Linked DNA regions of Homo sapiens: region 1 is linked to region 2. Evidence: promoter capture Hi-C in human tissues and cell types (Jung and others, 2019). All regions are on one chromosome and are shown on one strand. Each heading gives the region's core, a stretch centred on a gene start or on the middle of the fragment in contact. The rest is flanking DNA. Distances are from core to core; before and after follow the strand shown. Region 1 overlaps HORMAD2-AS1 (HORMAD2 and MTMR3 antisense RNA 1). Region 2 holds the start of HORMAD2 (HORMA domain containing 2).

Region 1 (4,785 bases), core at 1,021-3,520, 43 kb before region 2:
CTCCCTTGTCCTGCCAAGAAGTGGGGACTGCAGGGGACTTTGAGCAACCCAGTACATGAACCTCTTCATTTACAGAAGCATTTTGGAGGCTTTTTTCACTACACAAAAGGTTCTACTATAGAATTTTCCAATTGTATTTTGCATTTTAAAATATACTGTTCATTAACATAAAAATATACACAATGCCGGGCACAGTGGCTCACGCCTGTAATCCCAGCACTTTGGGAGGCCAAGGGAGGCGGATCACTTGAGGTCAGGAATTTAAGACCAGCCTGGCCAACATGGCGAAACCCTATCTTTACAAAAACTTAGCCGGGCCTGGTGGCACGCGCCTATAGTTCCAGCTACTCGGGAGGCTGAGGCAGGAGAATCTTTTGAACCTGGGAGGCAGAGGTTGCAGTGAGCCAAGGTCGCGTTACTGCACTCCAGCCTGGTTGACGGAGCAAGACACCGTCTCCAGAAAAAAAAAAAGTGTACACAATTACAAGTGAAATTCCCACTTGCTAGAGGTAACTGACTCACCACCTTTAGTGAGTTGTCTTGGTTTTGTTTTTTAAAAATACTCTGCAACAAAGCTTTACTTGTTTTTGTTGTCTGTTACAGAGTAAACCGTGGTGTAGATTCTTCTGCCAGAAATTCTCACACTTTTGGAGTTAGAGAACAGAAATGGTTCAGTAAGTGACAAAATGACAGCCAGAATAGATGGTCTAGGGCTTTGTCCCACATCCACCATGGCCTTAGCCTTTTTCTTTCAACCTTGTTTGGCTGGCTCCTTCCTCTATCCCTAAAGCTGTCCAGTCCTCCAGCCTGCAAAGCAAATTCTTTCAAGTCAGAGCAAATTCTTTCAAGTCTCTGCCTCCAGCAAGTATCCTGTCTTGCTCCTTCCCTTCACTGTGAAACGAATAGAAAGAGTGGCCAGCTCTATATCGTCTTTGCTCCACCACCCCTTCCTCTTCCTCCTGCTTCTGCTGCCCCCCACCACCCCAACACTGGGTGTCCCCAAGGACTAGCCACACACTCTAGACCCACTCCAAAGCATTCTTTCTTGCAACCATTCTGCAACCTGCCACCTTGCTAACCCTCCTGCCAGTTCTTCTGCCTCTGTAGTTGGCCTGTGAGACTTTGCAGGCAGCCCTCTCACCTACTTCCTTGGCATTACTGCTCTGAGGCTCAGCTCTCTGCCCTCCTTCCACGCATGCTTCCTTGGACATGCAGAAATTAAAGTGCTGAAAATGGAGGCCTGTTATATACCACAGTTCTAAGTCTCTAGAGGCCTCCTTCAGGCACCTGGGGAGACTGCGAGAGCATCAGGTGTCCCCATCTGGACGTGTCTATGTGGCCATGCTTCACCTGCACCCCCACGCAGTTCGATGGCATTAACCTGGGGACTAGTTCTGGGCCTGAAAACTGAGCTCAGCCTTGTCAGCCAGAGATGCCTCGGGGCTTCCCCTGAACTGAGAGGCCACGACGTCTGCTCTTCGCTTTTATCCTCTGTTGCAGGATGCAGTCAGCACCTAGTGCAGGGGTGAACGCCGATGCCAAGTTTGCCCTCCTATCCTTCAACCCCAAGTAGGAAGTTCACCTCTTATTTTCATATTGTAATTGAATTCCGACACCCCACCAACCCTTCCTGGGACTGGGGGAAGCCCCATCGTCAGTCTATTTATGACACTCCGTCGTAGGAAGCTTTGACCCTGGTTGGACAGGAATGAGCTAGAGCACCCAAAGCCACTGGGCATGGTTTCTGTGTGCTGCCCTAGGCAAGGGCAGAGGGGCTCTGCCTCTCCTTACCTGGGCCTACCAGAACACCCTTGCCAGTCACATGTCTTCCGGGTCACCCTGCTGCCCTCCAAGGCACCTCATGCCCTCAGAGGGCCCTGCTGATGCCTGAAAAGCCCAGATCAAGCTGAGAACAAGGGCCTGGCTGTCTGTTCAGGAACCCTCTGCCCTGTTCTGCCTCGGTACTCTGTCACCCCTCATTGCTGAGGACCCTAACCAATGCATGCACAGAGAGTCTTGGCTTCTGACAGCTCTGGATATGCTCTGTGGCGCCTTCATGTAGTAAGTCATTGAAGGCTAAGTCTCTGTGCAGGCTTCACTGGTGACTCACACATGTCCCCACCCCTACCATTCCATGAGATGACATGGGACTTCTGTCTCAGGCACTGTTTGCTCTCAAGAATATGCTGCCTGTTAGGGAAGATGATCAGGCAGATAAATATATTCATACCCTCATCCAAAAAGAACAGGACCTGAAAAAGCCTCTTAGAGGCAACCCATTGAAAATGGAGACCAGTGTTTCATACAGCACATAGTGAAAAAGGTTTGATCCGAATTTAATCTTGTAAAATGAAACTATTATTGAAATAAGTATCTTTTTTGAATCGACAAAATTATATATAATATACAGTATGTTTTGAAATATGTATACATTGTGTAATGGTTTAAATCGATCTAATTAACATATGCGTTACCTCACATACTTATTTTTTTGTGATGAGAGACACTTAAAATCTACCCTCTTAGAGATTTTCAAGAATACAATGCATTGTTATTAACTAAGTCACCTTGTGGTGCAATAGAGCTCTTTAACCTAATCCTATTTAACTGAAATTTATCCTTTAACCAGTATCTCCCACTGTTTTGTTTAAAAGTATGTTTTAACAAAAGGTAATTGCAACTATAGGCTAATTCTTTGTTGTTGTTGTCGTTATTGAGAGAGGGTCAGTCTCGCTCTGTTGCCCAGGCTGGAGTGCAGTGGCACGATCTTGGCTCACTACAACCTCCGCCTCCTGGGTTCAAGAGATTCTCGTGCCTCAGCTTCCTGAGTAGCAGGGATTATAGGCATGCACCAGTACACCCAGCTAATTTTTGTAGTTTTAGTAGAGGTGGGGTTTTGCCATGTTGGCTTGGCTGGTCTCAAACTTCTGACCTTAAGTGATCCACCTGCCTTGACCTCCCAAAGTGCTGGGATTACAGGCGTGAGCCACCACTCCCGACCAGGCTAATTCTTAAAAATAATATTTTAGGTGTATTTCCCTCCCCAAATTATATGATTGCACAATAGGACATTATTTCATGTTTGATTTTCTAGTGTAATCAATCACAGGATCATTTTAGGAAAAGTTAGTCAAGGGCTTCCTCAATTTCCCTCTTAAATCCTTTAGTCTTTGATATTCACATCATCCCCCTAGGAAACACCTAATTGGTTAGACATGTCACCTTCCCCTTCATTTGTTAATGGACCTACTCTCTGCGATCCTTATTTCCAATGGCTACACTCATCTGAGCAGTTTGCCAACACATTCACCAACTATGTGAAATTCTGCATATTTTACAAAACTTAAATTGTACTTTGGTGCCTGTTTTGTTGTATTTTCAACATCTCACAATCCGTAACAGGGAAGTTGGGCTATGGTGGATGGAGAGTATGTTAAGGAGGAAGAGATGTTTAAGTGGAGAGTGATTTTTCTAAGTGGTTGAGTTGTGTAGAGAATACTCTTCATGTCTGATGACTTTAGCTTTCTCCACAACTAGTGGCTACAGGAACTTGGATACTGACTAGTTGGAGTTATAGCTCAGAGGAAGAAGAGAGTACATGTACATCTGAGCAGGGAGCCTGCCCCTTGGGGGATAGCAGTGACATCAACACATGGCAATATGATGACGTCAAGGTGAGCCAAGGCAAGTGGGCGGGTTTCAGGATCTGAGCCAGAGGGCATGGGTTAGCGAACAGGAAAGGCAGGAAATATTTGTTAAAAGCTTAGGCCAAAAAAGTCTCCTATGTCAGGCCAAACACTGGTCCCAATTCTATAGGTATTTGAGGTTTCTGAACAGAGAATGGAACAAGATGATAATAGTTAATATTTGTTATGGGCTAGGCACTGTCCAAATACTTTCCATGAGTAACACATTTAATTCTCCTATTAACCTGGTGAGGTACTGTGACAGCCTCATTTGAAACTAAGATGACTGAGCCAGTAGAGCTGTTAAGCCCCTTGCCCAAGGTCACCCAGAAAGTTGAAGCAGCTGAGCCATGGTTTGAATCTGGCCCCTCTGCCTCCTGAAATCACGCTCTCAACCGCTGCGCTACCCAGTCTCTCCTGGGCCCAGGATGAATGGAAGTGGGTGCTGGGAGGCGAGGCAAGATGAGGTGGAAAGAGCAGTAAGAGGCCACCTGCATGAAAAAGGCCTAAACCAGGGCAGAGAAGGGTTCAAGAGCAACTCCAAAGAACACTGAATGTTAAAGTACTAGTGCTGTTTCATTGGCTTTACACAGGACTGTTTCTTTCCAAAACTCAGTAAGTCATGCATGAAGCAATCACCAATGCAAGAATCAATCAGGGGCCGGGCGCGGTGGCTCATGCCTGTAATCCCAGCACTTTGGGAGGCCGAGGCAGGCAGATCATGAGGTCAGGAGATCGAGACCATCCTGGCTGACATGGTGAAACCCCGTCTCTACTAAAATACAAAACATTAGCCGGGCGTGGTGGCGGGCGCCTGTAGTCCCAGCTACTCGGAAGGCTGAGGCAGGAGAAAGGTGTGAACCCGTGGGGCGGAGCTTGCTGTGAGCCGAGATCGAGCCACTGCACTCCAGCCTGGGCGACAGAGCAAGACTCTGTCTCAAAAAAAAAAAAAAAAAAAAAGGAATCAGCTGCTCACTAAAATTAACTGTTTCAGCCGGGCATGGTGGCTCATGCCTATAATCCCAGCATTTTGGGAGGCTGAGGTGGGTGGATCACCTGGGGTCAGGAGTTCAAGACCAGCCTGACCAACATGGTGAAA
Region 2 (4,889 bases), core at 257-2,756:
CACCCCATGGGACATTTGGCAAAGTCTAGAGAAATTTTTGGTTGTTATGATGGTGGGGGTGGGGAGAAGGTTGAGAAAACTTGCACTAAAAGAATATTTCAGCCCAAATTTCAGTTTTAGTCATTATGTTCTAAACTCATGTTCTCGCCAACTTGAATAGTTTTTTTTTTCTTTCCTGCAGAAACAAAATAAGAACAGGTTTCAAGTGGCTCACTCTTTCATCTACTCTCTTGGGAAATCCCCTTGGGGAGGTTCATGGGACTCCAGGAGCCTTTGGAAAGCACCACAGGATACGAAATATCTACCTAAACAGGTGAGAAACGATCCAAGGAGCCACACCCCCAACTGCTCCCACAGTTACCAGGGCAGAAAAAACTGAGATTAGGGGTAGGGCACAAAGGAGAATATATTTATGTTTTATTTGCATAATTACAAATTAATGTTAAAAAGAATGCAAAGTCAGGTCCAGGGTAGGGATGAAGAGGTTGCAGATGCCCTCAAGTATTGGAAAGCTCTGGCCTTCTGGCCTTATGTCTTTTTTCTTTCTTTTCTTTTTTTTTATTTTTGAGACAGGGTCTCCCTCTGTTGCCCAGGCTGGAGTGCAATGGTACGATCTTGGCTCACTGCAACCTCAAACTCCCCGGCTCAAGCGATCCTCCTACCTCAGCCTCCCGAGCAGCTGGGACTACAGGCGCACGTCAGGTGGCCCAGCTAATTTTTGTACTTTTTAAAATTTTTTTGAGACGGAGTCTCGCTCTGTCGCCCAGGCTGGAGTGCAATGGCGGAATCTCGGCTCACTGCAACCTCAGCCTCCTGGGCTCAAGCGATTCTCGTGCCTCAGCTTCCCAAGTAGCTGGGACTACAGGCGCGCGCCACCACGCCCAGCTAATTTTTGTATTTTTTGTAGAGACGGGTTTTCAACATGTTGGCCAGGCTGGTCTCGAATTCCTGACCTCAAGTGACGCGCCCGCCTCAGCCTCCCAGAGTGCTGGGATCCCAGGTGGAGCCACCGCGCCGCACTTCTCGGGCCTTCTTCTAACTCGGGTCCCTGGGCCCCCCAGGCTCTCGCTTCCCTCCCCTACGCCGCCCCGCGCCCGCCTCAGACCTCTCTGGGACCCGCCGGCCTGGCGTCCTGGCCCGCCCGAGCCCCACGGTCCCTCGGGTCCTAACCTCGGCGGGGCAGGCACCTCCTCAGGAAGCCCCGGAGCAGGCTGTCGTTGTATAGGTGGCCCAGGCTGGCGGCCCCTGACCGAAGGTCGCGTCGGGTCAGTGTGCAGCCCGTGGCTGAGAGGCGGCTGCTGAGGGGCCGGGCGGGCTAGGGGCCGGCTAGCCGCCGTTCGCCCCTGCTTTGCATATTCATGAAGTCTAGCGAGGCCGGTCGCCCAGGCTAGCCGTGGACGGGTCATGAATTATTCATGAGGAAACCTCTGGTCCCGCCCAGAAAGGCCTCGTTGACTATTCATGAGCCGAGGAGCGGGTTTGGGCCGGAAAAGGCCGTTGACCCCCGGTGGGAGGGAAGCGTCGACGAGCTGAGGTGAGGGCTGTTGAGACGCGAGGTCTCGGCCCAGAGAGGGCACTCGGGCGTTGTTAGTTCTGTCTTTATGTCAAAAAACAATTTTTTTTTCTTTTCTTATTACTTAAGGCTTTAAGTTGGATTTGAAAGTATCATATTTCGTGAGGGCCTAAAGTACTGTGAAGAGAATCGGGAGGGCAGGGGGCTGAGGAGGAAGGCAAAAGGGAGGCGATTTCCCCCAGAACTGGACAGAGAGCACCCAGGTAGTTTTGAAATTCAGATTTTTCTGGACATGAAATCAAACTTGCTGAGCAAGCAGCAGCCATAATGAGCCATGATGAGGCTGGCAGGGCAGACGATGTCTGTGCCCGACATTGGAGGGGGCCGTGTGTGGTGGAGCTTTGGGGAAGTTTATCTTACCTGGGTCAGATTCTCCCCAGCCATTGAGGTTTTCTGCCAGGATCGATGCCTGGTACAGGCCAAGAGGTGAGAGAGGTGGGGACAAGACACCCCGCCCCCCTTGACCTCAGCTCCCCTTTCACTTTAGTGAGGATTTGCCAATTAATCCCTATGGACTTTAGTTCCCTAAACAGAGGGAGAGAGTCTTGAACCTCAGGATTAGCCAATCGCCAAAATGTGTCCGAGTACGCAGGGCACTGGACAGGCTGTGCAGTACATCGTGTACTCAGCTGGTAGAAATGAGGGGTGGTTCTGGCCCCTAAAGGGGTTTTTAATCTCAGCAGGATCATAATCTAATTTCTCCTCCATTGGACCATCAATCTGTTGAGGTAGGAACAGTATTTTACATCTCGTAATCCTGCATGTTGTTGCCTGGCACATTGTAGTTGCCTCGTAGATGTTGAATGAATGAATAATTGAAATAGCATGAAAAAGATATTAAAAAGTCAAAAGAGCATGAACAAATACTCAATTAATATAGTGGAAGCCATTTTCTCTGAATGAGCACAGGTAGGGGAATTACCAGGGCCAAATGGAATTTGTTAAAATGGTGAATAATTTATTGAAGCAAGCTCTGTTGGAAGGTCTAAGTAATTGGGCGAACTTTGGCAAACCAAGTTCCCTTGCTTAGCCTCACTTTCCTTTTCTTTTTTCTTTTTTTTTTGTGAGATGGAGTCGAGCTCTGTGCCAGGCTGGAGTGCAGTGACGCAATCTCAGCTCACTGCAACCTCCACCTCTCGGGTTCAAGCGATTCCCCTGCCTCAGCCTCCCATGTAGCTGGGACTACAGGTGTGCACCACCACGCCCAGCTAAATTTTTTTATTTTTTTTTATTTTTAGTAGAGACAGGGTTTCACCATGTTGGCCAGGATAGTCTCGATCTCTTGACCTCGTGATCCTCCCACCTCGGCCTCCCAGAGTGCTGGGATTACAGGTGTGAGCCACTGCACCTGGCCCCTTTTCTTTATAGTTTTATGTTTAGGTTTAAATCCATGATCCATTTTGCATTAATATTTGTATACAGTGTGAGATTTAGGTTAAGTTTCTTTTAATTCTCTGTTCTTCCCCCCACCCTCCAGATGTCCTTTTGTTTCAGCATCATTTGCTGAAAAAAAGATTCTTCCTCCACAGAATTGGATCTTCTTTAAATCAAAGGGGTTGGAAGATGTCTGTGCTCCCTTCCAGCTTTAGGAATCTATTGAACCCATTTATGTTAACGTACACTTCTTTTGAGTAAAGCCATTCTTAACAACATGCATGTGTAAGGAAGGTAATATAGTTACATTTCAGAATCCAGCTATTGGATAGTGTTCACCTGATAGAAAAGGGATTTTCTTGTAAAAAACGGTTTTTGAAGATTGAGAAAGATGGGTAGAGAGCCTTCATAAATCAACTATGATTATATTTGGGAAAATGTAATAAAACTTTGGCTTTTGCTTCACTTGGAATGGTTAAAAAAGTGGTTTAGGCCTTAGTAAACTAAACAGCAGCTGGCTAATCTTTATGTGAATCTTGGACTCACACATAGTAGGGGTAAAATAGGAAGTAATTGTGCCACCATATAAAATAGGGCAATTGAAGGCGTGGTGTGGTGTCTCATATGTGTAATCCCAAAACTTTGAGAGGCCAAGAGTTCGAGGCCAGTCTGGGCAACATAGTGAGACCTCCCCCTCCACCCGCCCGCCCAACTCTACAAAAATAAAAAATTTTTAAAAATTAGCAGGGCATGGTGGTGCATGCATATAGTCTCAGCTACTTGGAAGGCTGAGATAGGAGGATCACTTGAGCCCAGAAGTTTGAGGTTGCAATGAGCTGTGATTATGCCAGCCTAGGTGACAGATCATGCCACCGCACTTTACTCTGTCTCAAAAAAAAAAAAAAGAAAAGAAAAGAAAAGAAAATGAATACACAACAACAAAAAAAATAGGGCAATTGAGATATAGGTCAAGAGGTAAGCCTAGAGTGAATCTTTACCAGAAAGAGCATAGAAATATTGCCTCTTTCTCAAGAAGATCATAATCCTTGTCACAAAGTAGACATATCAAATGTAAGAGTGAGGGTCAGTTGCAGTGGCTCACACTTATAATCCCAGCACTTTGGGAGGCTAAGAAAGGAGTATTGCTTGAGCCCAGAAGTTCAAAACCAGCCTGGGTAACATAGTGAGACCTCATCTCTACCAAAAATAAAATTTGCTGAGTGTGGTGGCACATGGCCTCTAGTACTAGCTACTTAGGAGGCTGAGGTGGGAGGATCACTTGAGCCCAGGAGGTCGAGGTTGCAGTGAGCCAAGATTGCGCCACTGCATTCCTGCCTGGGTAAACAGAGTAAGACCTTGTCTCAAAAACAGAAGAGGGAATGGTATTGATGAACTGTGAAGTTTCAAATATGTGTGGATCTAATTTGCAAACAAATATATAAGAGAATGACATTGCAAAGTTAGCTTTCAGTTCTTAAAATCCATAGTTATGAAATCTCTTCTAGGTTTTTAGATAATGAGCCTGAACAAAGGGATAACACATAGAAAAAATCAGACCTATTCTCTGAGAATGCATGCTCTCTAGAGTCATACCTCCTGTGAACTTGTGAGCTTTTAAAATTAAGCAGGGTTTGTACTTAAATAGAAGACCTCCACAAAACACCTGCTCAAAGGGAAAACAGTAGCAACAGAATAATTAGAGGCTGAAAGGAGTCTGGCTTTTTTTTTGAGACGGAGTTTCACTCTTGTTGCCCAGGCTGGAGTGCAATGGTGCAATCTCGGCTCACTGCAACCTCCACCTCCCGGGTTCAAGCAATTCTCCTGCCTCAGCCTCTCAAGTAGCTGGGATTACAGGCACCCACCACCATGCCCAGTTTTAGTAGAGACGAAGTTTCACCATGTTTTTTGAAAAAATAATTTAGATCTTTTTGCCTTCCTGAAG

What was found. The method cuts DNA at HindIII sites, captures the fragments that hold promoters and counts their contacts. A contact is called where the count stands out against the background at its distance.
Region 1: a fragment that was not itself captured here is called in contact with the fragment with the promoter of HORMAD2 in region 2 in 1 of the 25 tissues and cell types used here (pancreas).

Annotation. Positions count from the first base shown.
Region 1 is chr22:30,034,740-30,039,524 of GRCh38, forward strand. All of the region lies in intron 3 of HORMAD2-AS1 (HORMAD2 and MTMR3 antisense RNA 1), which reads right to left. Among named protein-coding and RNA genes, the nearest start is that of MIR6818, 30 kb to the left of the region's middle. The HindIII fragment of the contact is 4,617 bases long and covers 1-4,579 here.
Region 2 is chr22:30,078,958-30,083,846 of GRCh38, forward strand. HORMAD2 (HORMA domain containing 2) reads left to right here and starts at 1,507. Exons shown (of 11, transcript NM_152510.4): 1 at 1,507-1,534. It overlaps HORMAD2-AS1 (HORMAD2 and MTMR3 antisense RNA 1), which reads right to left and starts at 1,300. Exons shown (of 5, transcript NR_110541.2): 1 at 1,171-1,300. RefSeq lists enhancers at 963-1,660, 1,498-1,577 and a silencer at 1,108-1,157. The HindIII fragment of the contact is 22,926 bases long and covers 1-4,889 here.